Regions from separate parts of the Homo sapiens genome. Here regions 1, 3 and 4 are each linked to region 2. Evidence: promoter capture Hi-C in 16 types of primary human blood cells and fetal thymus (Javierre and others, 2016). All regions are on one chromosome and are shown on one strand. Each heading gives the region's core, a stretch centred on a gene start or on the middle of the fragment in contact. The rest is flanking DNA. Distances are from core to core; before and after follow the strand shown.

Region 1 (6,863 bases), core at 4,292-6,791, 410 kb before region 2:
CACCTATAGGTATGAGCTCAGAGCCTGATAGGGCTATTCTCAAACTTGAGGAGAAAATTTTAAAATGGGGTTGGTTCCCAAAAAGAAAGGAGGGTGACTGTGTCCAGAAAGGTGGGGTGGGAGGAGTGGACAGGGCAGCTCTGAAGGTACTTGCCTTTTTTCCTAGTTATTGTTTTGTCACTGGCCACCTTCATTTTTCACTGAATTGAGTCTTCCACATGAAGAAGCATATCATCTGCAAAGATCTCTGTGATTTCTAGCTTTGGAGGCAGAGAGTGTCTATTTATGTCTCATTTTTTGTACAGATGAGGTTTCACCACCTTGCCCAGGCTGGTCTTGACTTCCTGGGCTCGAGCAATGCTCCCGCTTCAGCCTCCCAAAGTGCTAGGATCACAGGCGTGAACCACCATGCCTGGCCAGTCTTTGTAATATTTTAGAAGAACCCCTGCCCCCAGCACACACACGCACAGACACACACCCCAAAAAAAGAAAGAAGAGGGAAAACTCCACGCCATGCCTAAACCATGTTTTACAGAACAGTTTTCTAGTCATGTAGTTTTCCTTTAGCTATTTCTGCTTTCTAGCTGCAAATGAGAGTGTCAGTGGGATATGAAAGCTTACTTAATGTTCATAACTGTTTATATTTGCCCCTATATAGTAATGTCCTGTTCATTAACGTGCAATGGAGTGCTCGGTGTACTTTTATTCCTTTTTGGAAGCTCTTTGGAAAGGCTTTTGCTTAATCATAGGACATTGCTGAAGCCAATGACATTATGATTGAATGATTCATCTTGGTTTAAGACTTATGATCAGACAGGCTCTGAGCTCTATTCTCCAACCTGGGGAGAAAATTTTACAATAGAGTGGGTTCTCAAAAGGAAAGGAGGGTGACTGTGTTCAGTGTCCTGATCTCTGTGATTTCTAGCTTTGGAAGCACAGGGTGCCTATTTACGTCTCATTCATGAGAGAATTGACTGCAGGCGTTTTTCTCCTAAAGTCTGTTATTTCTTTAGAGGCTGGGCCTACCACTCCAGTTATATTCCTCTAGTCCAGCCCTTCCTCTACTTCTGTAGCTTGGGTGATTTATGCACAAAACAGGCAGCGTTTGAATAAAAGGACAACATCTACGTCAAGACACAAAATAATTAGAGGTTAGCTGTGTACATGATTCTACAAGCTAAGCTTTCACTTTGTATAATATACCTGCATGGCCATTGAAACTGTTGTTGGTGAAGTGAAATGCAGCCACTCCCCTGGTTGTTACATGGAGTGGTGACAGATTTAGCCTCACTATACCTGCATAAGTAGGTAGTATACAACAATAGCAGAAGTTGAAATTTTAGTCTTACAATAGAAGGGGTAGCTGGCATTAAGTACCTTGTTTACACCTCTGATAAGTCTTGAGAATGTCTCTAGAACTGAGAATCCTCTGCAGAAATGAGAGTCTAAGCTCTGGGAATATCGTGAGATTCCCAGGAGGGGTTGCTATGTATAGTGAGGGTTGAAAAAAAAGCTCAAGGACAAGATCCATATTTACGGACAGAAAGCCAACAAAGAATACACAGTAGAAATGGGGCCACGGTGGCTCACGCCTGTAATCCCAGCACTTTTCGAGGCCAAGGCGGGTGGATCACCTGAGGTCAGGAGTTATAGACCAGCCTCGCCAACATGGTGAAACCTCGTCTCTAGTAAATATACAAAAATTATCCAGGCGTGGTGGCACGAGCCTGTAATACCAGCTACTCTGGAGACTGAGGCAGGAGAATCACTTGAACCCAGGAGGCAGGGGTTGCAGTAAGCCGAGATCACACCACTGCACTCCAGCCTAGGGGACCGAGCAAGACTGTGTCTCAAATAAACAAAAAAGTATACACAGTAGGGCCGAGCGCAGTGGCACACGCCTCTAATACCAGCACTTTGGGAGGGCGAGGAGGGCGGATCGCGAGGTCAGGAGATCACGACCATCCTGGCTAACATGGTGAAACCCCGTCTCTACTAAAAATACAAAAAAAATTAGCTGGGTGTGGTGGCGGGCGCCTGTAGTCCCAGCTACTCCGGAGGCTGAGGCAGGAGAATGGCGTGAACCCAGGAGGCAGAGCTTGCAGTGAGCCGAGATCGCGCCACTGCACTCCAGCCTGGGCGACAGAGAGTGAGACTCCGTGTCAAAAAAAAAAAAAAAAAAAAAAAAATACACAGTAGAAATGAGAGAAAGGCAAAAGGCAGGAGGAGAACTAGGATAGTGCTGGAAATGCTCCACAAGAGATAAAAGACAAAATTTCAAGGAAGAATGGATGCGCAACAGTGATACAGGTTTCAAAGAGAGGCAGAAGGAACAGGTCAGTGGGCTGTTTGTTAGGCAATCTTTGAGAAACTTGGTTGTTTGAAAAGTAAGTTAGAAAAGCCAGAAAATAAAGGTTATTTTGTTGAGTGGAATTAGAGGATGAAGAAAACTTTCAGGAAGTTTGTTAGTAACATGAAGGTGAAGAGTAATGGTGAAATATATTAGAACAAAGTTAACTTTCAGAATTTGTGTTCAGGTTAAGAGTTTTTGCAATTGAGTCTCTTAATTATATACTAGTATTTCATCCTTTCATTTTCTTTTTTTGCATATTATATAGCACATACTTCATACGCCACTTCTTGCCCTTGGTTTCCCAAATTAACAGAAATGCTCACGCGGATATGTCCATGTTCATAGCAAAGCAATGAGGATGCACTCCAGATTCCTGGCATTTTGCTTTGACCCAGGATCAAATTTGAGGCAATGACGGTGGCACACGCCTGTAGTCCCAGCTACTCAAGAGGCTGAAACAGGAGAATCGCCTGAACCCGGGAGGCAGAGGTTGCAGTGAGCCGAGATCATGCCACTGCACCGCAGCCTGGGCGACAGAGTGAGACTCCATCTCAAAACAAACAAAGAACAATAAATATTTGTTCGATTGAATTCACAATCAACTATTTGCTCGTCACCCTTATTTTATATATATCTTTCTAATCTAGGATATGGTAAAATTATATTAGTATCATGAGGATTGAATATTGCTCTAATATTATTCTAAAATATTAGTGATGAAAGAGACCTTAGAAATCATTTACTATACAGTGGTTTCATTTTGCAGATAGGAAAACTGAGGCACAAAGATGTTAAATGACTTGTCAAAGCGGCAGAGCTAGAGCCAGGAGAATCCAGGTCCTCTTGATTCCTAGTTTGCTACTAAACACCGCTAAGCCGTGAAGAAGGTTGCTTCTGCTTTACGTTATGCTACATTTTTTCTTTCTCTCTCTTTTCGCATGCTTTTTTTGTCCCACTTGAACATGAGATCAACATGCAAATCAGAGAACCTGAAAAATTTGAGAAAAACAGGGACAGTTGTGTTGTGACCCAGTATACAGGGAATGGAGGTATGATAACTTCCTCTTTCTACCAAGTTATCAGGTTTACTCATGTTTCCTGGGCCTTAGTTGAACGTGAGAGCCTTTCCCAGATATAGGCATCTTTTCTCGTCAGTGGATGTATTAGAAAGGCAGGAGACCAGAGCTCTGACCTGGCTCTGTTATCATTCCTGTGGTCTCTAGAAAGTGACTTTCCCTCCCTGGGCCTCAGTTGCCTAATTTGTAAAATATGAGACTTGGATTACATGAGTTCAAAAATGTTTTCGGCTCTAAAATCCTATGATTCTACCTTCTGAATTATGAAGGATTTAATTTTTTTCTACCTTCCAAGTAAAAGCCATACCTAAGCCTCATGGAATTTGATCACCCCTACCTTTTCCTGTGAATGTTAACAGGCCTTCTCTGCTCTGTTTGCTATAATTGGAATGATTTAGTTCTTATTTCAATGGTTTCAATGATTGTTTTCCATTTGTCATTCTACCAAAGAAGTAATTGGCACAATGATTAAAGGTGATCTATGACTCAGATTTTCTGCTGGATCCCTTTCAAGTGTTACTTCGCAAATCTCTAGACCTCCTCCCCTCTATGTCTCACTCATACAGAGTTGGATACCAACTATGGATCTGATTTTTTTTTTTTAATTTTAATTTTATTTTATTTTATTATTATTATACTTTAAGTTTTAGGGTACATGTGCACAATGTGCAGGTTAGTTACATATGTATACATGTGCCATGCTGGTGTGCTGCACCCATTAACTCGTCATTTAGCATTAGGTATATCTCCTAATGCTATCCCTCCCCCCTCCCCGCACCCCACAACAGTCCCCAGAATGTGATGTTCCCCTTCCTGTGTCCATGTGTTCTCATTGTTCAATTCCCACCTATGAGTGAGACTATGCGGTGTTTGGCTTTTTGTTCTTGCGATAGTTTACTGAGAATGATGATTTCCAATTTCATCCATGTCCCTACAAAGGACATGAACTCATCATTTTTTATGGCTGCATTGTATTCCATGGTGTATATGTGCCACATTTTCTTAATCCAGTCTATCATTGTTCAACATTTGGGTTGGTTCCAAGTCTTTGCTATTGTGAATAGTGCCGCAATAAACATACGTGTGCATGTGTCTTTATAGCAGCATGATTTATAGTCCTTTGGGTATATACCCAGTAATGGGATGGCTGGGTCAAATGGTATTTCTAGTTCTAGATCCCCGAGGAATCGCCACACTGACTTCCACAAGGGTTGAACTAGTTTACAGTCCCACCAACAGTGTAAAAGTGTTCCTATTTCTCCACATCCTCTCTAGCACCTGTTGTTTCCTGACTTTTTAATGATGGCCATTCTAACTGGTGTGAGATGGTATCTCATTGTGGTTTTGATTTGCATTTCTCTGATGGCCAGTGATGGTGAGCATTTTTTCATGTGTTTTTTGGCTGCATAAATGTCTTCTTTTGAGAAGTGTCTGTTCATGTCCTTCGCCCACTTTTTGATGGGGTTGTTTGTTTTTTTCTTGTAAATTTGTTTGAGTTCATTGTAGATTCTGGATATTAGCCCTTTGTCAGATGAGTAGGTTGCGAAAATTTTCTCCCATTTTGTAGGTTGCCTGTTCACTCTGATGGTAGGTTCTTTTGCTGTGCAGAAGCTCTTTAGTTTAATTAGATCCCATTTGTCAATTTTGGCTTTTGTTGCCATTGCTTTTGGTGTTTTAGACATGAAGTCCTTGCCCATGCCTATGTCCTGAATGGTAATGCCTAGGTTTTCTTCTAGGGTTTTTATGGTTTTAGGTCTAACGTTTAAGTCTTTAATCCATCTTGAATTAATTTTTGTATAAGGTGTAAGGAAGGGATCCAGTTTCAGCTTTCTACATATGGCTAGCCAGTTTTCCCAGCACCATTTATTAAATAGGGAATCCTTTCCCCATTGCTTGTTTTTCTCAGATCAGATCAAAGATCAGATAGTTGTAGATACGCGGCGTTATTTCTGAGGGCTCTGTTCTGTTCCATTGATCTATATCTCTGTTTTGGTACCAGTACCATGCTGTTTTAGTTACTGTAGCCTTGTAGTATAGTTTGAAGTCAGGTAGCGTGATGCCTCCAGCTTTGTTCTTTTGGCTTAGGATTGACTTGGCGATGCGGGCTCCTTTTTGGTTCCATATGAACTTTAAAGTAGTTTTTTCCAATTCTGTGAAGAAAGTCATTGGTAGCTTGATGGGGATGGCATTGAATCTATAAATTACCTTGGGCAGTATGGCCATTTTCATGATATTGATTCTTCCTACCCAGGAGCATGGAATGTTCTTCCATTTGTTTGTATCCTCTTTTATTTCCTTGAGCAGTGGTTTGTAGTTCTCCTTGAAGAGGTCCTTCATGTCCCTTGTAAGTTGGATTCCTAGGTATTTTATTCTCTTTGAAGCAATTGTGAATGGGAGTTCACTCATGATTTGGCTCTCTGTTTGTCTGTTATTGGTGTGTAAGAATGCTTGTGATTTTTGTACATTTATTTTGTATCCTGAGACTTTGCTGAAGTTGCTTATCAGCTTAAGGAGATTTTGGGCTGAGACAATGGGGTTTTCTAGATATACAATCATGTCATCTGTAAACAGGGACAATTTGACTTCCTCTTTTCCTAACTGAATACCCTTTATTTCTTTCTCCTGCCTAATTGCCCTGGCCAGAACTTCCAACACTATGTTGAATAGGAGTGGTGAGAGAAGGGATCTGATTTTCTTTTGCTTCTTTTTTTTTTTAAGATGGAGTCTTGCTCTGTTGCCCAGGCTGGAATGCAGTGGCACAATCTTGGCTCACTGCAACCTCTGCCTCCTGGGTTCAAGTAATTCTCCTGCCTCAGCCTCCCAAGTGGCTGGGATTACAGGCACCCACCACCATGCCCAGCTAATTTTTGTATTTTTAGTAGAGACGGGGTTTCACCATATTGGCCAGGCTGGTCTCAAACTCCTGACCTTGTGATCTGCCCACCTCAGCCTCCCAAAGTGTTGGGATTACAGGCATGAGTCACCACGCCCGGCCTTTTGCTTCTTTTGGAATTAGGAGGGGGGTCATAGGATGTCCTCAGGATCAGAGATCCAAGGAGATATCTGGAAGGAAGAATGTGTTCTCTCGGTAAAGGAAGGGGAAAGCTGCCATGTTGCTGACTTTGCTATAGCAGATGACAAGGAGTTAATTGCAGCCTAACTCCTCTCCTCATTGTGGGGGTTACTGGCTTTGCAGTGTCTTGGCAAAGTCTCATAGACATGTCATGGCAGCCTATCCCTTGCTTTCTTCTGTCTACATGCCTACACACCCAGGGATGGAGAATCAAGAGATCAGTTTTCTGGCTGCCATTGAAAGGATGCTCTGTCAGAAGCAAAGGCTTGACTTATTCTGAAGATTACCCTGATCTGCAAAGCTGCAGAATGCATAGTTATTTGTTACCTGGACTTAAAGTAAGGCAAGGCCCAGTGTCACA
Region 2 (6,528 bases), core at 3,199-5,698:
GGAGCCATCAGAAGCCTCAACAGAGGAATAATGTTGGCATCTAGCTGACACCTAGATGTTACCTAAATGCGGCAGAATTTGCCAGGCTTAAGAAGGGGCTGGGATCCACCCTTTCTTATTCTGTGAGTATAATGCGGACATTATAGAGGGGAATGGTTTAAAGACAGGACTATGGGGAAGAGACACAGGCGAACTGAGAACCAAGAAACTAGGGATTATCCAGGAGGGACATCTTATTAAACCCATGCAGTGTGGTGTTGTAATTATTGCCTTGTATGTGGTACAAAGGAAAGAATTATCTAAACAAAGGCATAACTCCTCATCTCCCCTTACTCTCTGTAGCTTTAGGGAACATTTGCACCCTTCAGAAAAATAACTACTTAATTCTCTACTAATATCCATTGGGTATTTTGTCTAAGGGAAAAGGGAAAGAAGATATTAAACTGGGGTAATCCTGGTTCACAGAAGTTTGATGGGCACCAGCCTTAGTTGAATTATCATACGGAAAAGAGAATCAACTAGTAGACTCCTAGAGACAATACGGGTAAGTTTTCTGAGTTTCTCCTTGTCAATGCATAGCTTGAGATCTCCTAGGAGACAGAAAGAAGGGACACACAGGTTACATGTTTTAGTTCTTTGTGTGTTTATTAAGGGTCAGTCCTCTGGAATCTTCCTATTTGCTGGCAAAGCTGAGGACTGCCTCTATGATAGACACCAAAGCAAAATACTGCTATCATTTGAGTCCCAGTAGGGACTGTCATGTGGCATCTTAGACAATGTATTTCTGTCTTTCTAGCTGTAACTGCAATAATGTCATGCTTGGAGATTCAATGCCTATATGCAGCAATTGGTTTGGTTTTGTGTCACAGCCACAGATTATACCTCTACAAATCTGTGTCACCAGTCAGACCCAAGGGGAAGAAAATAAGAATAGATGGATGAATCCATGCAAATCTATCAGTACTGCCTCCAAAACCAACCAAATGCATTCTGTATTAACTGTAGGAAACTTTCAAAGTGTGGTTGTGAATTAGCAGCACTAGCATCGGTTGGGAGCTTAATAGACTGCTGACCCACTGAATCCCAGCCCTACGAAATCAAAATCAGCATTTTAACAAGATCCTCAGGTTATCAGTATGCACGTGAAAGTTTGAGAAGCAAGTTGTACCATATTATCAACTTTTGTTTATAGACAACACATTTATTACTTTTTGCTCTAGTTTACAAATTATGTTTTATAGTGCTAGTCTTTTGAAGAGTCCAACATGCTGTAAATTAACAGTTTATAGAAAAACTGGATGGATTCAGGATATAGAGGCATATGGTGAAAAAGCTAATTTCTTTCATTCATATTAGTCTGGAAATATTTATTGAATTCCTACTGTGTGTTCCAGAACTGTTCAAGAACCTGAAGATATAGCAGTGAACAAGTCCCTGTTTTCATGGTGCTTACATTTTATTAGGGGGAACACACACTGGACAAACAAATGATATATTAATATCAGCTGATACGTGCTACAGTGAAAGAGAAGGAAGAGACGTTGCTATTTTGGCAAGAAGGGTCAAGGAATGCTTCACGGATACAGTGATTCTTTTCATTTTATTTCACTTTTTTAGAGACAGGGTCTTGCTCTTTTGCCCGAGCTGCAGTGCAGTGACATGATCATAGCTCACTGCAGCCTTGAACTAATCTCAAGTGATCCTCATGCCTCAGCCTCCCAAGTAGGTAGGGCTGCAGGCAAGTACCACCACACTGGGCTAATTTTTTTCTTAATTTTTTTATAGAGGTGGGGGTCTCACTGTGGTGCTCAGTCTGGTTTCGAACTCCCGGCCTCAAGCAATCCTGCCTTAACCTCCCGAAGTGCTGGGATTACAGGTGTGTGCCACTACACCCAGCCTGGATAAGGTGGTTCTTAAAGATTTTGTGCAGCCCGGGCACAGTGGCTCACACCTGTAATCCCAGCACTTTGGGAGGCCAAGGCTGGTAGATCACCTGAGGTCAGGAGTTTGAGACCAGCCTGGCCAACATGGTGAAACCCCATCTCTACTAAAAATACAAAAATTAGCCAGGCGTGGTGGTGGGCGCCTGTAATCCCAGCTACTCAGGAGGCTGAAGCAGGAGAATTGCTTGAACCTGGGAGGTGGAGGTTGCAGTGAGCCGAGATCACACCACTGCACTCCAGCCTAGGTGACAGAGTGAGACTCTGTCTCAAAACAAAAAAAAAAAAGAAAAAGATTTTGTGCAGACATCTGGGGAAAGAGATGTCCAGGTAGAAGGGTTAGCATGTGAAAATCCCTGAGGCTGGAGTGTGCTTTGTGCCTTTGAAAAGCAGCAAAGAAGTCATGTCTCAAGTAAGGTAAGAAAGGCCAGAATAGTTAGAGAAGTCAGAGAGGAAAATGTTGGAGGAAAATGAAGTAGGTCCTTGCAGGCCTTTTAAAGTGGAATGGGAAGCCATTGGAGGCTTTTTAGCAGAGAAGTGACATCTTACTTCCATGTTAAAAGATCTCTGTGTTTGCTATGTTGAGAATAATCCACGGATTTGGGGTAGAGTCACGGGCAGAGTCAGGGAAACAAGTTGGAAGGCTATTACAATAAACTAGAAAGTATTTTGTATAACTTAAACCATTTTAAAGACAGTAGCCACGGCTAGGTGCAATGGCTGACGCCTGGAGTCCCAGCACTTCAGAAGGCCGAGGCAGGAGGCTCCCTTGAGCCAAGGAGTTCGAGACCAGCCTGGGCGACATACGAAGCCCCTGCCTCTAATTTAAAAAAAAAAAAGGGAAAAGAAATAAAGATAGTGGTTACTACTACTATACCACCATCCATTTAAGGAAGAAAGTGTGGAGAGATGGTTAGGTATATTTTGGAGATATAGCTGAAAAGATTAGATTGGAAGTGAAGTACATGAGGAAGACAGCAAGCACACTTCCTAGGTTCTTGTACTGAGCAAGTACAAGAATAGAGTTGCTAAGTACTAAAATAGGGTATCCCAAAGGAAAAGCATATTTTCCCCCCAAAATTTTGACATATAAATTTCACATGCCTAATGGACAACCAAGGAGAAATGCTGAATGTAAAATGTAATTTCAGGATAAAAAATTGAAGGTGTAATTTGCAAGCAACTACTCTCAATTCTGCCATGGTAGAGTGAAAGCAGCTATAGGCAATACTAAAGGAATGGGCATGGTTGTGTTCCACTAAAATTTTAGGACACTGAAACTTGAATTTGAATTTCGTCTAATTTTCACATCTCAAAATATTGTTCTTTTGATTTTCGTTAAGCAAGTTGCAACCAGAATGGACTGCAAAGCCTATAACATTTATTGTCTGGCTCTTTTTATTTTATTTTTATTTTTTGAGACAGTGTCTCGCTCTGTCGCCCAGGCTGGAGTACAGTGGCGCCATCGGAGCTCACTGCAACCTTCACTCCCAGGTTCAAGCGATTCTCCCACCTTAGCTTCTAAGTAGCTGGAACTACAGGCGTGCACCACCACGCCAAGCTAATTAAAATTTCTTTTGCAGAGACAGGGTCTCATTCTGTTGCCCAGGCTGATCTCCTGGGTTCAAGGGATTCGCCCGCCTAGACCTCCCAAAATTCTGGAATTACAGGCGATAGCCACTGCGCCTCGTCTCTGGCTCTTCACAGGCAATTTGTGGATCCTTGTTACAAATGAAACAAGATGGGACATTAGTTGATCATTTTTGAAGTTGGGTGACGGTATACAGGGTTTCGTTATACTAGTTTACTTTAGAATATACTTGAAATCTTTCACAATAAAAAGTTGTGGAAATGTTTAACAAAGGTGAGTTATCTTACGCGTTTTTCTTTCCTTATACAAAAACCAAATCTCTCTGAAAGTTGTCTATAGTTAGTAAAGCCTTTTGCTTCTTTTCTGAAAAAGAAAAACCCTTTCGAAGTCTTTAGTGGTGGTAAAATAAGCCCTTTGGATATGACACTCGGTGACGACGAAAGCAGGCACAAAAGGAAAAGAGGAGTTTTTGGGGGGTGTCTGTGTGTGTTTTGTCTTTTTACATTACTCTAAATTCCCAGAACCAATCCCGGTTCTACAAATAAGTGAAACAAAATCCCCTTTAACACCGTAGGGTCTCACGCCCTCAGATGACTCACGGAAATGACGCCATCAGCGAAAAGCGGGGCGGGCGTAGACGTCAGCACGTCAGCCCTCCTCCATGTCCAGCTGAGGGAAGGCTCGTTTCAGTGCCGCGGCCGGCGCCCGCCAAGGGATGGGCAGCCAGAGCCTGTCGACTGCGGCTGCGCAGGTATGCTGGGGCGGGGCTTCAGGTCACCCCGCCCATCCCCAGCCTACGCGACCATTGAACAGCTGCCGCCCAACGGCTGGGTAAATCCTCAGCGGCCGAAATGATTAGCCCAGGGGGCAGCCCCGCCCCCTGCTCCTCCCGGCCTCTCGCCCCGCCCCCATGTCCCGCCCGCTCGTCTGCCTGGCTGCGGGGTGACACGGGGCTTCGCCTTGGGAAGGGGTCGAGGGAAGCAGTTAGACGGCTGCCGGGCGGCGGCTGCCGCGCGGCACACAATGTGAGCCCGGTGATGGGGAGCGGGCCGTTGGGAAGAGGGGGCGGCATGGCAAGAAATGGGAGGGCCCCGGTGCTTGGTGGTGGAGGGGCTGCAGAGTGAGGGGCGGCTTTGAGTGGGCTAGGCTGTCAGGGAGTGTTCCGATACTGTAGTGCAGGCTGGGATCGCGGTCGGGAGACGCCGAGTCCGCATTCCTCAGTTCTAGAGCTTCTCTTGGCAGCTCGGCACACCTTAAGTTTGCCTCTGTTTGGGTTGTCTTGGGATGTGAGGAGGAAATTAAAAGATTCCCCCAAACACTTGGATGCTTCTTTGGGAAGTTCCTCGCCGGTGTGTGCGTGCCCACTTCTCTTGGATGGAAAGGTGGAGAGGCCAGGTGGGCGGGTGGACTTCCACTCTCCGAGGATTGTTAGAACAAACGAACTGGGAATTCCTCCCCCGCCCCCACGCCCTGCCCTGCAACACAGCAAACAGTCCCAACTACTCCACCCCCACCCCACCCCAGACGGAGTCTTGCTCTGTCGCCCAGACTGGAGTGCAGTGGCGTGATCTGGGCTCACTGCAGCCTCTGCCTCCCGGGTTCAAGCAATTCTCCTGCCTCAGCCTCCTGAGTAGCTGGGATTACAGGTGCCCGCCACCACGCCCGGCTAATTTTTTGTATTTCTTTAGTAGAGACAGGGGTTCACTGTGTTGGCCAGGCTGGTCTCGAACTCCTGACCTCAGGTGATTCACGCACTTGGGCCTCCCAAAGTGCTGGGATTACAGGCGTGAGCCACCGCGCCTGGCCCCAACAACTTTGAAGAGGAGACCAGAACAAGAACATTCTAAGAGCTTTGATGTATTTGAAATGTCTGAGATGTGGGCCTTTTCCTTGTATCTGTACAAAAGGTATGAGTGGGAAGGGAGTCTTGCTCCTTATTCTCACTGGACGCATTCTTGGTTATGAACATGTACCCATCTCTAGGAGTCTGTCTGCCCTAGAGGATTCTATGGTGGACATACTGTGTTAGCTGTGATGTTTTCCTGAAACACAAGTTTCTATGAAATCTAATCAGTCCATGTGAAAGTATAGCGGGTTGTTTGTGGGAAGTGAAGAAGATACATCTTTAGTTTTTGATAAGTCTAGATTTTTTAGTATGGCCTCTTTTTCTAACCTGTGGATGTTTTTCTCTTTCACAGATTTATTTAATTGCCCAACTACCACTGATGAAGATATATTGGAGTGACTGCTGAAATTGCCTTTTTGTTTTTAACCAGAGGACAGTCCATTTGTTTCACTTCTTTTTGCTTTCTTTACTGCTATGAGCTTTACTGAACGGCTGAAAAACTTGGAAAATAAAATGGACATGCTGTAGTCTTGAACATAATTTTTTTAAGGAAAACTTAAAGTGCCAGAGTGAAAGCCAGAATGGCATCCAGAGAGAGGCTCTTTGAACTTTGGATGCTTTATTGTACAAAGGTAATTGCTTTCCTTTTTATTTTTATGTTTTAAAATACTTTATTATAAAATTTGTGACTGGCAGTAGTAACACTTTATTTAATAGATAATAGTGTATTTAGTCATAATGAATAACCCCAAACTTAAAAGCGTTTAAAGGATTTTCTGTTTTCCTCTTTTTCAGGTTTGAACACACATACAATATTGGCATACTGTTAAAAACTGTAGGGTGCGGCTTTTATTTGATACTTATCCCCAAATGATCCTAAAATTATATAAGTAAAATTATGCCCTTAAGAGAAAAATAAAATATTTTTATTTTTGTTTGTGCTTTTCATTTTCTCCCACAAGTGAGTGTAGGATAGAGACATTTTTATGAGAAGGGCATTAAGCATTTTTCTTGGAATGAACCTTTGAAATTGCATCACAAGGTTATTGATTGAACTGCGTGCTGTGTGACTGCCACTAAGTTAGCACTCTTTGAGCATTGTCTCATTTCCTTCTCACTACAATACTGTGAGGTGAATATTGTGATCATCC
Region 3 (6,977 bases), core at 424-2,923, 420 kb before region 2:
ATTTTGAAAATTCTTTGTCTGTAATTTCAGAATTTTCATTTTGGTTAGTATCTTTTGCTGGAGAGCTAATGTAATCTTTTTAGGTTGTTGAAATACTCTGTTTTCTCATACTGTCAGACTTCTTACATTGGTTCTTTCTCATCTGGAGAATCTCTCACTACTTGTTTTTGAATTTACTTTTCATTGCATGGGACTTTTAAAAGAATTATCCCCTTCAAGGGTGTGACTGTAATGTATGTTGTGAATGGTTGTTTGGCTTCAATTCTGGGTGCTGTCAGGGTGCCAAAGTTCTGTATGAATTCCTTGGTTATAGTTAGCCTTTGTGCAGTGGCTTTCTCAAGTGCTGGTTGTAGTAACACTGTGCTGGGCATATTAGCAGGCTCACTACCTTCTGCAGAGCTGAGACTGTGGAGGTCTCAGGAAGCTTACCTGGTTCATAGCGCTGTGCACTTCGGTCAAAAGGTTTTGTATTGGGTTGTGCAGTTCCGTCTCTAGACCAGCAGGTGGCGAATACGGGTAAGAGCCAGATGCCCAGGGTGTGTGCGTGCTTAATCTTTGTTTACTGGGAGGGGCTGTCTGTTGTCTCAGGCGGTGGGCTGATCTGTGGGTGGACTGATCTGTGGAATGCTGGGTGCCCTGAGTTCTCTACTTACCCCAGGAAAGGAAGACGAAGCTGGGTGCAGCTGGACTGCTAAGCTCACCTTCGGATACCCCAATGACAGTGGAAGCACAAACCCTGATGAGGCTGGTCGGGGGCTTGTGGTGAAAAGCGCTGAGGTTTCCATCACAGGCAGAGAGGGCTGCACCAGCTCTATGTCCTGACCAAGAAGGAATGCCATCTGCCTCCCAATCACACCCCTGTCCCGAGGCTTTGTGACCCTGAAATAGGCAATGTCGTTTGTCTCTAGGCTGCAATATAGCTGAGGGCCACAGAAATGCCTGTCCCAGAGCCCTCCACTGAAACGGCTTCCCGTGGGAACCTCTTCCCTCAGCTGAACACAGACAACTTTGTGGCTTCGTTGATCTCTACTGCAGGAAAACTGTTGCTCCATGTAGAGAGGGAGAGGGGCCCTACTCTTCATGCAAGCCGGGCCTGGGGTGGTGGGAACACTGCCAGTTGGGGTGCACCCACCCCTAATAGCCCTGCATTGACCATCCATAGGCACACCTGTGCCAACCCCCCACAGGAACAGCCTGGCTATGTACACAGCAATGATTGTAGGGGAGAAGTCCCCCTCTCTGTGTCCCTTCTTGAGCACCAATGCTGCCTGCCCACTGGGGTTGAAACACACTCCTCCAGCACCACACCTGCCTCTGCTGCAAGGGGCACAGTCACCTTCAGTGCGCAAGCAGGGAGCTCTCAGGCACAGGAGACCCTGTACTCTCGTCTCCTTTGTCCCAAGGGGTGCTTTGGCACGGTGTACACTCCCTTCCCCTATGGACAGTTTGCCCTGAGGGTTACACCTCCAGCAACGCCACAGCTCCCCCTGGATCCCACTGGCCCTTTGTGGTTGCTACAGCCTGAGGAGGTGCAAGGGAATGTTTACAGGGGATCCAGTAATGCAGCAACACAAGGGCTGAGACTCCTTGGGCAGGACAGAGGCCCTCAATGGGTGCACAACCAGTATGGCACCCACCACCTCAGCTCGGGTCTACGGGCAGGGTGAGCAATCCTGCATGAGCTGGCAACCTGGTGCTCTGCCCGCAAGAAGTTCTCAAATCACTGCTCATACTGGTGCCAATTCAAGAGGGTAGAGGGGCTCTTCAACAGTTTGGAAACCAGCAGTCTGCTGCAGCAAGGGTGAGTGAAATGAGCTAAAAACATCCCCACCTACCCTTTCCACAGGACTGCAAGTCCCTTGGGTATTATCTCTGCCAAACTCTTGCTTCCCTCTTTTTTCTGTGCCCCAACTTCTTCCTGTGGGTTCTGTCACTCTTCGATCAGTATTCCACTTGGGCCATGATTATTCACCTTTGGTTCTTCTCTCTGAGGAGAACTGGCATCCAATGTTTCTAGTCAGCCATCACTGATCTTCCTGTTCCTCTTTCCCATATCAATTTCTACTCATGGCTGTTGGATATTTCATATTTCCTCTCCAGATCTACCCTCCCCTCTGCTCTCTGCTACAAGAAGCTGACTAGTTTGATATTTATTTATTTATTTATTTGAGACAGTGTCTCACTCTGTCGCCCAGGCTGGAGTGCAGTGGCACCATCTCGGCTCACTGCAAGCTCCACCTGCCGGGTTCACACCATTCTCCTGCCTCAGCCTCCAGAGTAGCTGGAACTATAGGCGTGTGCCACCACGCCCGGCTAATTTTTTGTATTTTTAGTAGAGATGGGGTTTCACCGTGTTAGCCAGGATGGTCTCCAGCTCCTGACCTTGTGATCCACCTGCCTCTGCCTCCCAAAGTGCTGGGATTACAGGCGTGAGCCACTGCACCCAGCCTATTTATTTTTTAAAAGACAGAGTCTCACTCTGTTGCCGAGGATGGAGTGCGGTGGCATGATCAGGGCTCACAGTAGCCTCAAACTCCTGGGCTCAAGTGATCCTCTCACCTCTGTCTCCCAAGTAGCTAGGACTACAGACACATGCCACCATGCCTGGCTCTTTTTTTTTTTTTTTTTTAAAGAGATGGGGTCTTACTATGTTGCCCAGGATGGTCTTGAACCCCTGGCCTCAAGTGATCCTCCCACCTTAGTTTCCCAAAGTGCTGGGATTATAGGCATAAGCATAATGCCAAGCTGATACTTAATTTTTTGAGGAAACAATTTCTAATTACTTTTTCTCCTTATTTTCTCTTCTCTGATACTTTCTACCTAAAAATTGCTTTCTTACATTCAGAATTGTTGAAGAGGCTTCAGTGTCTCTTTGTATATTATCATAATAAAAACAAACAGGTACTATTTTCCTATTACTATAAAGCTTTTTGAGTCTTTAATTTTTCATTAGGATTCCTCTAGATGGCCGGGCATGTTAGCTCATGCCTGTAATCCCAGCACTTTGGGAGGCTGAGGTGGGTGGATCACAAGGTCAGGAGATCAAGACCATCCTGGCCAACATGGTGAAATCCCATCTCTACTAGAAATACAAAAATTAGCCGGACGTGGTGGCATGTGCCTGTAGTCCCTGCTACTCAGGAGGCTGAGGCAGGAGAAATGCTTGAACCCAGGAGGCAGAGTTTGCAGTGAGCTGAGATTGCACCACTGCACCCCAGCCTGGGTGACAGAGTGAGACTCTGTCTCAAAAATAAAAAATTAAAAAAGATTCCTCTAGATGTATAAACTGACTGAAAGTTCTCCAGTTATAAGAACGTATATTGGAAGTTTTAGGTGGCAAGTGAAGCTACTGATAGCTGCTTTACTAAAGATGAACATGAAATAATGAGGAAAGGCTGGGCACGGTGGCTCACACCTGTAATCCCAGCACTTTGGGAGGCCGAGGCAGGCAGACCTGGGGACGGGAGTTCAAGACCAGCCTGACCAACATGGAGAAACCCCATCTCTACTAAAAATACAAAATTAGCTGGGCATGGTGGTGCATGCCTGTAATCCCAGCTGCCCGAGAGGCTGAGGCAGGAGAATCGCTTGAACCTGGGAGGCGGAGGTTGTGGTGAGCCGAGATTGCACCATTACATACCAGTCTGGGCAACAAAAGCGAAATTCCATCTCAAAAAAAAAAAATAAAAAAAAGGAAAGAATGAGACATGACTGTATCTATCCTGATAAATCAAAATACCTCCAAATAATCTGGGGAGTGCTAAAGTATCATGGATTATATCTGACTCAGCAATCAAATTTCAACCTATTGGGGTGATGGGGGGGAGGAAGTCCACCCTTTCAAAGGGATTTACGCAGAAATAGTTTATATTTCTCATCCCAAAGCAGATTTGAAGAATTAAAACCAGAAACCAGGCCCGGTGCGGTGGCTTATGCCTGTAATCCCAGCACTTTGGAAGGCCAAGGCGAGAGGATCACTTGAAGTCAGAAGTTTGAGACTAGCCTGCCCAACATGGTGAAACCCCGTCTCTATTAAAAATACAAAAAAATTAGCTGGGCATGGTGGTGCACACCTGTAATCCCAGCTACTCAGGTGGCTGAGGCAGGAAAATCTCTTGAACCCGGGAGACAGAGGTTGCAGTGAGCTGAGATCTCACCACTGCACTCTAACCTGGGTGACAAGAGTGAGACTCTCTCAGAAAAAAAAAAAAAAGTGAAAATAAAACAAGGAACCAGAACCAAGATTCTTCAATTCACAGTTTGAATAAAATTATGGAAATAGTCTCTCCTAAGGTATGTAGAATTTCAGTAAACCATGCTCTATCTAGTCCTCCCTCTCAATTACTTCTGATTTTCTGTATCATATACATATCTGCATACAAGAGGAATACTTTAAGCTCTATTCTCTAAGAAAGGAGGAAAGCATGATGAGCATAGGGCTAAATTTAGCCAGCCAGCTGTGTTTTGTTTGGCCTGCAGAGTATTTAACATTTGTTTTTATCTGAATGCCTTTTAGGTGGGACCTGGACCTTCCCCAAACCCAGCAACTTCCAGTTGTCTTAATCCAACTAGATTTACCCATTTATATTACCTTCCTAATCTTTGTAATCTTTGGTTTGTACCTGCTGTAAGAACTTTCGTCGCAGACATAATGTGAATATAAGAGCCTAGAGGAAAAGCTTGGCATTGTGGAATTGAGAGGAGGGGAACTTGAGAGGTGAGCCATCCCTGTCTAAGACTCTGACGTAGGGCAGCTTTTCTGCCCTCTCCAGTGGTGCACACTTTTGTCTTCTTCCATAGGAAGTCCATGGTTACCTTATTTCTCCATTCTCCATGCCCACATCTCTCACTGAAACCTGTATCTAAATAAGGTTCCAATACTTATTCATGGGATAAATGACTACCCAAAACTAAACAAAACTGGCTTACCTTAAACCCCAAATAAACTTTCATTATATAAGCATCACCAAGCAAATGGGGTACTCAGAATCATCATACACTCAGCTTGGTTGTCTGCATAGAAGCTTCTCTCTTTTTTTTTTTTTTTGAGATGGATTCTCACACTGTCGCCCAGGGTGGAGGGCAGTGGCGTTATCTCAGCTCACTGCAGCCTCCGCCTCCAGCGTTCAAGCAATTCTCCCGCCTCAGCCTCCCGAGTAGCTGAGATTACAGGCAGCCGCCACCACGCCCGGCTGATTTTCTTTTCGCATTTTTAGTAGAGACGGGGTTTCACCATGTTGGTCGGGCTGGTCTTGAACTCCTGACCTTGTGATCCGCCCACCTTGGCCTCCCAAAGTGCTGGGATTACAGGCGTGAGCCGCTGCTCCCGGCTGAGGCTTCTCTTTTTAATGCATTTTTCTTTTAACTTGATAGGAGAAATAAAAGTAGAAAAGGAAAGCCATGCTTGAGTAAAGAAAGGTTAAACAAAAAGAGTTTCAAGTCAGTCTTTTAGCATGTTAGGACCAAAGGGAAGAGGCATTCAGGAATATTCGCTCTAAATCAAGCCCCTGCCTCCCTGCTAACTGAGGCCAAGAAGTACGGAGCTGTGTGCTAGTAACTTCAGAAACTCACCCCAGTGTCCTTCACCTTCACAGTCTTATTTGTACAAAGATTTATTTGTACTGTTTCTCACCCAAAATTTTTCTAATAGTAACCCTGGGCTATTTATTCTTATAGTCTCTCCTGTCAAAGAAAGCAGTAGATGATATCCTTTTATCTATTTCAAAGTTAATGAGGCTGGGTGCAGTGGCTCAGTCTGTAACCCCAGCACTTTGGGAGGCCAAGGCGGGTAGATCACTTGAGGCCGGGAGTTCGAGACAGCCTGGCCAACATGGTGAAACCCCGTCTCTACTAAAAATATAAAAATTAGCCAGGCGTGGTGACGCAAGCCTGTAATCCCAGCTACTCGGGAGGCTGAGGCATGAGAATAGCTTGAATCTGGGAGGCAGAGCTTGCAGTGAGCCAAGATTGCACCACTGCACTCCAGCCAGGGCAACAGAGTGAGACTCTGTCTCAGGAAAAAAAAAAAAAAAAATTAATGAAAATCTTCCCTATAGTTTGTTCTTCTCTAAACTACAAAATCCCCTTCTCCTTCTCCCGATCCCTTTAGCCTCTTTCTTAGATATCTTATTTGGAAATGCTCTCCTCATTTATTGCTAAACTTTATCTGATTTATCTTCACCTAAATTATGGGGGCCCAAATTTGACTTTTAGTGTTTTCAACTTTAGTATACAATGGATAACTTACAATTTTATATTGGGTAAGGTTATTGATGCTACTGATCCTGTTAAACTGCCTTTTCTGGACCAAAATGTGAGTGAAATTCAGGCTAGAATTCAAAAAGCGTAAAATCCATTATTCAGCATACAGATATGCCTCTCTTTAAGCAAATCTGCTACCTGAAAACATGATTTTATAGAACAAAAACTGATTCTTTAATTAAAAGGATTCACCAATACTTTTCATTAAATAGACTCTCCTCTGGTACAAATAGTCTTTTCAGTTACACATTTATCATGCAAATCAACATGCAGTTGCATAATTTGGGAGGGTGAGAAGAAAACTGTGCAAATTAAAGCAATATAAGAGCTGCCAATTTTATAGGAAGTAACGATATGTTCTTGTAAGTCCTGTAATTCTACACTGCTCTTTCCTGCACCTTCCTTAATAAGTCTCCACCCAAAAGCAAAATTAAAGGGTTTCATTTCTCTCTCCTCTAGACTAAGTAAATGAACTCCTCTCCAAACAGATAGTGGGTAAATAGGAAGGAAATTAACTGCTCAGTTTAAAAAAGGAAAAGGTAGGCTGGGCGCGGTGGCTCAAGCTTGTAATCCCAACACTTTGGGAGGCCGAGGTGGGCGGATCACCTGAGGTCAGGACTTCCAGACCAGCCTGGCCAACACGGTGAAACCGTCTCTACTAAAAATACAAAAATTAGCATGACATAGTGGCACATCCCTGTAATCCCAGCTACTTG
Region 4 (6,989 bases), core at 2,438-4,937, 450 kb before region 2:
AGTGAAACTCCATCTCAATAATGAAATAAAATAAACCATTTGGGCCAGGCGTGGTGGCTCATGCCTATAATTCCAGCACTTTGTGAGGCCAGGGCAGGTGGATCACCTGAGGTCAGGAGTTCGAGACCAGCCTGACCAACATGGTGAAACCCCGTCTCTACTAAAAATGCAAAAATGGCCAGGCACAGTGGCTCATGCCTATAACCCAGCACTTTGGGAGGCTGAGGCAGGTGGATCACGAGGTCAAGAGTTCAAGATCAGCCTGGCCAAGGTGGTGAAACCCCTGTGTCTACTAAAAATACAAAAAATTAGCCGCGTGTGGTGGTGGGCACCTGTAATCCCAGCTACTCGGAAGGCTGAGGCAGAGAATTGCTTGAACCCAGGAGGCGGAGGTTGCAATGAGCCGAGACTATGCCACTGCACTCCAGCCTGGGTGACAGAATGAAACTCTGTCTCAAACACACACACACACACACACACACACACACACACACACACACACACACACAAATTAGCTGGGTGTGGTGGTGCCCACCTGTAATCCCAGCTACTTGGGAAGCTGAGGCAGGAGAATCGCCTTAACCCAGGAGGCGGAGGTTGCAGTGAGCTGAGATTGCGCCATTGTACTCCAGCCTGGGCAGCAAGAGCGAAACTCCATCTCAGGAAAAAAAATAAATAAGCCATTTGGTTGGGCCTCAAAGGTAATTAGACTATTGTAAAGAAAAAAGTAATATTTTTGTCATTGATAATTAAAAAGTCAGTGTCACAATAGTCAGAATAATTACCCAATTTAATATGTGCTTTATGTGGCTGCTGCTTTATAATGCAACTCACATACTTGCTATGAAAAGTTGAAATAAAGTAAATACAGTTCAAGAGCTCCAAGTAATGTTATACCAGTATAATCTTTGAAACATTTTATTGCATATATTAATATTGATTATGTCTGCATTTAGGTTTTATCAAACTAACCTTAATAAATCTTAAAGATCCAGAGAAATTTTGGGAAAATTACTATAAAGAAACTGTAGGCTAGGCACGGTGGCTCACGCCTGTAATCCCAGTGCTGTGGAAGACTGAGGTGGGTGGGTCACTTGAGGCCAGGAGTTCAAGACTAGCCTGGGCAACATAGCAAAACTCCATCTCTACAAAAAATTTAAAACTTAGTTTGGTGTGGTGGTCTGCAACCTCTGCCTCCCGGGTTCAAGTGATTCTCCTGCCTCAGCCTCCCGAGTAGCTGGGATTACAGACATGTGCCACCATGCCCTGCTAATTATTGTATTTTAGTAAAGGAGGGGTTTCGCCATGTTGGCCAGGCTGGTCTCGAACACTGGACTTCAGGTGATCCACCCACCTCAGTGTCCCACAGTGCTGGCATTACAGGCGTGAACCACTGCGCCCAGCCTATTTCTCTTTTAGACTAAGGCATTTATGAAAAAAAGTTATGTTTTATTGTCAAGGGCTACAAAATGGGCTTGAAGGAAGGATACAGGTCTCAAAACACAATCAGGAAAATTTAGCCCCTTGCTTGAGTGGCTTGTATTACAGATCAGTTGACAGACCTTTATTGCAGGGCTCTGAGTCAGTAAGACATCGTGTCAGATAGGCCAGGCATGGTGGCTTACGCCTGTAATCCCAGCACTTTGGGAGGCTGAGGCGGGCGGATCACCTGAGGTCGGGAGTTCGAGACCAACCTGACCAACATGGAGAAACCCGGTCTCTACTAAAAATACAAAAGTAGCCAGACGTGGTGGCACATGCCTGTAATCCCAGATACTTGGGAGGCTGAGGCAGGTGACTTGCTTGAACCTGGGAGGCAGAGGTTGCGGTGAGCCGAGATCATGTCATTGCACTCCAGCCTGGCAACAAGAATGAAACTCCATCTCAAAAAAAAAAAAAAAAAAATCTTGTCAGATATAGGAAGAGGAAATTATTAGAATGTTTGTACTCTAATATTTCTGTTATTCTTCTGAAAAATATTGTATGCCAGGTGCCTTTAAAATTTGATCCAGGCTGGGCATGGTGGCTCACACCTGTAATCCCAGCACTTAGGGAGGCTGAGTCGGGCACATTGCCTGAGCTCAGGAGTTTGAGACCACCCTCGGCAAGATGGTGAAACCCCCCGTCTCTACTAAAATACAAAAAATTAGCTGGTCATGGTGGCATGCGCCTGTAGTCCCGGCTACTTGAGAGGCTGAGGCGTGAGAATCACTTGAGCCCGGGAAACAGAGGTTGCAGTGAGTCAAGATCATGCCACTGCACTCCAGCCTGGGCTACAGAGTGAGACTCCATCCCCCAAAAAAAAAAAAAAAATTTGATCCACCTTGAGCATTAAATACAATTAAATACAATAATTAAGTACATTTTACCAAGTTAAGATCGCTACCAAAACCAGAAGATTTGAGAATACAGCTGAGAAGTTTAAATGTTCTCCTGTGTTTTGTGTGTGTGTGTTTTCCCTTGCCTTATAAAATAAGTCAATCAGTTATTAAAACATTTGGGTTAAAGAGTCTCAAAAATAAGTTGGTTAAGCTTTTCCTGGAAAAACATTGTCTGGCATTATGAATTTCAAGAAATGTTCATTAGCACCCTCCTGAGACATTGGTTTGACCTTTTCTTGAGTTACATCCCTTACCCGTTATTTCTTAAGTTTGTTAAATAGCTCATTTTTCTGCACTTTTATTTTCAGTAGGTGAGTCAACACAAGATGGCAAATCAGGATCAGGTGAAAAGATCAAGAAACGTGTGAAAACTCCCTATTCTCTTAAGCGGTGGCGCCCCTCCACCTGGGTCATCTCCACTGAATCGCTGGACTGTGAAGTCAACAATAATGGCAGTAACAGGGCAGTTCATTCCAAATCCAGCACTGCTGTTTACCTTGCAGAAGGAGGCACTGCTACAACCATGGTGTCTAAAGATATAGGAATGAACTGTCTGTGAAATGTTTTCAAGCCTATGGAGTGAAATTATTTTTTGCATCATTTAAACATGCAGAAGATGTTTAAAAATAAAAAAAAAACTGCTTTATCCTCCTGTCAGCACCCCCTCCCACCCCTGCAACAAAGACTTGCTTTAAATAGATTTCAGCTATGCAGAAAAATTTAGCTTATGCTTCCATATTTTTAAATTTTGTTTTTTAAGTTTTGCACTTTTGTTTAGTCTCGCTAAAGTTATATTTGTCTGTTATGACCACAGAGTTATATGTGTGTGTATCAAAAGTGGTCTCAAAATATTTTTTTAAGAAAAAAAGCAAAAACAATGTATTGCTGATAATCAGTTTGGACCAGTTTCTTAAGGTCATTAAAACAGAAGCAAATTAAGACAGGTTTGACTGCAGTGGTGTCTGGTATCCATGTTTTATTTCTGGGCACAAGCTAGTTTTTATGTTGATACGTTCCTGAACATATTATCTTGTTGGACATCTTTTCTCTTGTGTTTTGTTTGAATGTGCAATAGTTTATAGGCCACAAATAAGCTTTCTTGTAAGCTCTCTTCCTAACAGGGCACATATTCTTCCATAATATAAACACTTTTCTGCCCCATCTCCCATACTTTTGAAGGTCAGTTCTATGACAGTGAATTTTGCACAGGAGAAGCAGCTACCTGATTTCTTACTTTCTCTCTCCTTATCATGGAGAATACAGAAACATTGTCTGAAAGGGCTCTAAAGAAGGAACTACCAAAACCTGACTTGAAATGCCATTTCTTTTAACCTTCCAAATCCTAAATGTTTCCTTCAAGGCATCTTAATAAACTTATTTGCTTCTGGTTTTGGGAGTTCATAAGAGAGAATAGAACAAAATACAGGACATCAAATATTAGCCATTTCCCATTTTATTTTATTTTTCTATGTAGGTTCATGTTCCATGTTCATTTATTTAAGAAATACATTTTTATTGGTAAGCTTATAGAGCTACACTTATGGAATTTTTAAGTAGGTAAATAAATGGTTAAGACAAAATAGTGTTATAGCCTTCATTCTCTGAATAGGCCATCTTTGACTCATAAAATTACCCTTACTGTTTATTATAACTTCAGAAGTAATTTATAGTTCTGAACCTATAGTATCTTTTACCCTGTTCCCAAGCAAAGACTGGTGACTTTATCTGAAAATGATTCCTCTTCCCATGACCTAAAACACTGTGAGGAAAAATCATTCAAGTGGCATGCCAAGTCCCTATGAAGGAAGGGCTGCTATCAAACCTACCTTTTTTGAGCAAACTGAGACTAAACTTCTCTCTTTTCAAAATTGTGTTATCTTCCTTAATCCTATTTTCATAATTTTTCCTTTTGCCAGTTTTTCACATTATCTTTGATATGTGAGCAACATTTATTATTTACATTAGAGTATACCTTTTAGTAATAAAATGACTTGAAATCATATTATTTTTAAAAGCCCTTTGCTTCTTTCATTACTTATAATCTCCTCTAAAACAACCTCTGCATGTTTTTTTTAAATAAAGCACTTTCTGTCAAATAATGGACTTTTTTCTAAACAGAAATTATTTTCTATTAATTTGCAAACTGATGATTTCACTTTTTTTTACTTTTTTTTCGATTATCAGAGTACTTAGTAAATGTTATATAGTTTAGTTCTAAGATAGTTCCAGGGATTAAAAGGTTAAGAGGAAAACACAAATCACCAAATTTCTGATTTATGTTTTTATCTCCTGAACAATATTTTCTCACTCATATTCCTCTATCTTATCACTTAGCTAAAGACAGCCTAAATTTCCCAATTTTCTGTCCAAAATATTTGTGATTTACTTGTATATAAGCCTTCTCATTTGCCATGTGCTGTGATCTTACAAGTTAGATGTTACTATACCTACCATTTATTCAGCTGGATTGCTGAACACAGTTCTGGATTCATAGAATTAAGAATATCTTGTTAGTGCCCAGGATTTCCACGTTTTGTGTTTTATTGGCCCTTTTCTTTATTCAGCCCCTTAATCTATTTTCAGTCTTCTGGCACGTAATTTTTTTCACAGTTATTATTCTTCTATTAACAAATTATTTTTATCTTTCCTAGTACATTTTCACTTAGTTCTCTTGCCCTTAAATATCTTTCACATGCATTTTAGGATATTCTTTTCAAATATTTGTAGGACAACTTTGAATCAAAATAAATTATGTTCCTTCTCCAATTTGAAGCATTGAGGATAAATGACCATTTGAGGTCTAACTGATCTTTTCCTGCCAGAAGAGTTATCTTACGTTCTGCTATATTTGTATTTGGGCCAGTTGATTGTAGGTTGTCCAACATTTTTTAATATTGGGAAAATTATGATAAAATGCTTTAAAAATTAATATGCCAGATTAAAATAACTGAATAGTTTACTATTTCATTCAAGCATGTTTAAAACAAATAATTTCCTTTCACCAGTTTTTCTTAGTAAACTCCTGAAAAAGTAGGAAAGGTGGAAAGTATATATCATTTTTATAAATTTTAAATTGTACATCAGACTTTTAAAATCTGTAATATACAAGCAAGCAAAATTATTTTAAATGACTTAATTGTATGCTAATACTCATCTGATAATAAATGCTTCTTAAAGTTGACATTTAACTGCTATCACAAAGTTTTATATGTAGAAAAGTGGGGTCCTTTTGAATAAAAGATCATTCAACTAAAAATATTAAAATTTATTTCACTGGATGGTAATGTAACCTTAAAAGCATCATAATAGGTAAAGTCTAATATTAGTTCCCTTAACAAAATCCTAACTGTATACCAGAATTAGGTCACTGAAAGAACTTGATTTGAATTACGTTTAGACAAAAATGATTTAATTGTAAATTCTTAAAACTTTCTAAATGCATAATTGGCAAAAAAAAAAACCCACTGTTACCAGTGTAGGAAGTTACAAGAAGGCACATACTGAATGCTGAAGTATACATATGCTATTTCTCTTAAACCTCAGAGCAACCATATGAGCATTGTAATTAATATTCCCATTTTACAGATGAGGAAACTGAAGCTAAGAGAAGCTAAGTAATATGCCCAAGGTCCACATCTAGTAACAGACAAAGCTGGGATTTCAGTCTATGTCTGCCTCTCTCCACATCTCTTTCATCCATACCACACTGCCTACATGCCATATGACAGGATGTGTAATGGGCTAACGTTTATTTAAAAAGTTCAGGCCAGGTGCAGTGGCTTATGCCTATAATCCCCGCACTTTGGGAGGCCGAGCCGGGTGGATCATGAGGTCAGACGTTCAACACCAGCCTGGCCAAGATGGTGAAACCCCGTCTCTATTAAAAATATTTTTTAAAAATTAACTGAGCGTGGTGGTGGGCGCCTGTAGTCCCAGCTACTCAGGAGGCTAAGGCAGGAGAATCTCTTGAACCCGAGAGGTGGAGGTTGCAGTGAGCTGAGATCGCGCCACTGCACTGCAGCCTAGGCGACAGAGCAAGACTGCCTCAAAAAAAAAACATAAAAATTCAGTCACTATACTCTGGCACAATTTTCATTTGTATATGAGCCAAACCACATACCTTAATGATTTGGGAAGTTAGGCAAATATGAGATATGTAGACATATCTATGCTGATTGTTGCTTGAGAAATAATTACTAATTCTAGACAAAACTCAATCCTGTATCTTCCATCATGAATCTTAAAATCATTTCACTTCACTCCTAACATTTCTTACATTGCAGAACTAATGGTAAAGTAAATTTTACGGAAAAAGTTAAGATAGCTTTGGGAACAGAGACCTTTCCCTAAATTGATTCCATAGCAGATTTGGGGGAATTAACAAAGAATTTCAGTCTCATCAATCCTTTGAATCCATCTTCAAAACTTCTGCTTTTAATAACTTTAGAAAATTTACTAATCTATAGAACTAATTGAGTAGGATATAGGAAGGATACAAGGATATAATGTCCTTTTTATAAAAGTTTAGTATAGCTTCTTTACATGTATCCACTTGTTCCAGAAAATGTGCATTGGTTCTGAATGTGAAAATATTTAAAGAGAGAAAGG

What was found. The method cuts DNA at HindIII sites, captures the fragments that hold promoters and counts their contacts. A CHiCAGO score of 5 or more calls a contact.
Region 1: a fragment that was not itself captured here is called in contact with the fragment with the promoter of NBEAL1 in region 2 in 1 of 17 cell types (neutrophils); the score reaches 6.0 in neutrophils.
Region 3: a fragment that was not itself captured here is called in contact with the fragment with the promoter of NBEAL1 in region 2 in 3 of 17 cell types (neutrophils, endothelial precursors and monocytes); the score reaches 6.8 in neutrophils.
Region 4: a contact is called between a fragment that was not itself captured here and the fragment with the promoter of NBEAL1 in region 2, in 1 of 17 cell types (total B cells). The highest score is 5.8, in total B cells.

The regions. Positions count from the first base shown.
Region 1 is chr2:202,601,440-202,608,302 of GRCh38, forward strand. No RefSeq gene overlaps it. Among named protein-coding and RNA genes, the nearest start is that of FAM117B, 30 kb to the right of the region's middle. The HindIII fragment of the contact is 8,722 bases long and covers 1,181-6,863 here.
Region 2 is chr2:203,010,427-203,016,954 of GRCh38, forward strand. NBEAL1 (neurobeachin like 1) reads left to right here and starts at 4,449. Exons shown (of 56, transcript NM_001378026.1): 1 at 4,449-4,556; 2 at 5,730-6,009. The coding sequence starts at 5,959. RefSeq lists an enhancer at 4,129-4,682 and a silencer at 4,321-4,550. The HindIII fragment of the contact is 7,356 bases long and covers 1-6,528 here.
Region 3 is chr2:202,588,317-202,595,293 of GRCh38, forward strand. No RefSeq gene overlaps it. Among named protein-coding and RNA genes, the nearest start is that of FAM117B, 43 kb to the right of the region's middle. The HindIII fragment of the contact is 2,502 bases long and covers 423-2,924 here.
Region 4 is chr2:202,557,007-202,563,995 of GRCh38, forward strand. BMPR2 (bone morphogenetic protein receptor type 2) reads left to right here. Exons shown (of 13, transcript NM_001204.7): 13 at 2,690-6,989. The coding sequence ends at 2,940. Among named protein-coding and RNA genes, the nearest start is that of FAM117B, 74 kb to the right of the region's middle. The HindIII fragment of the contact is 429 bases long and covers 3,474-3,902 here.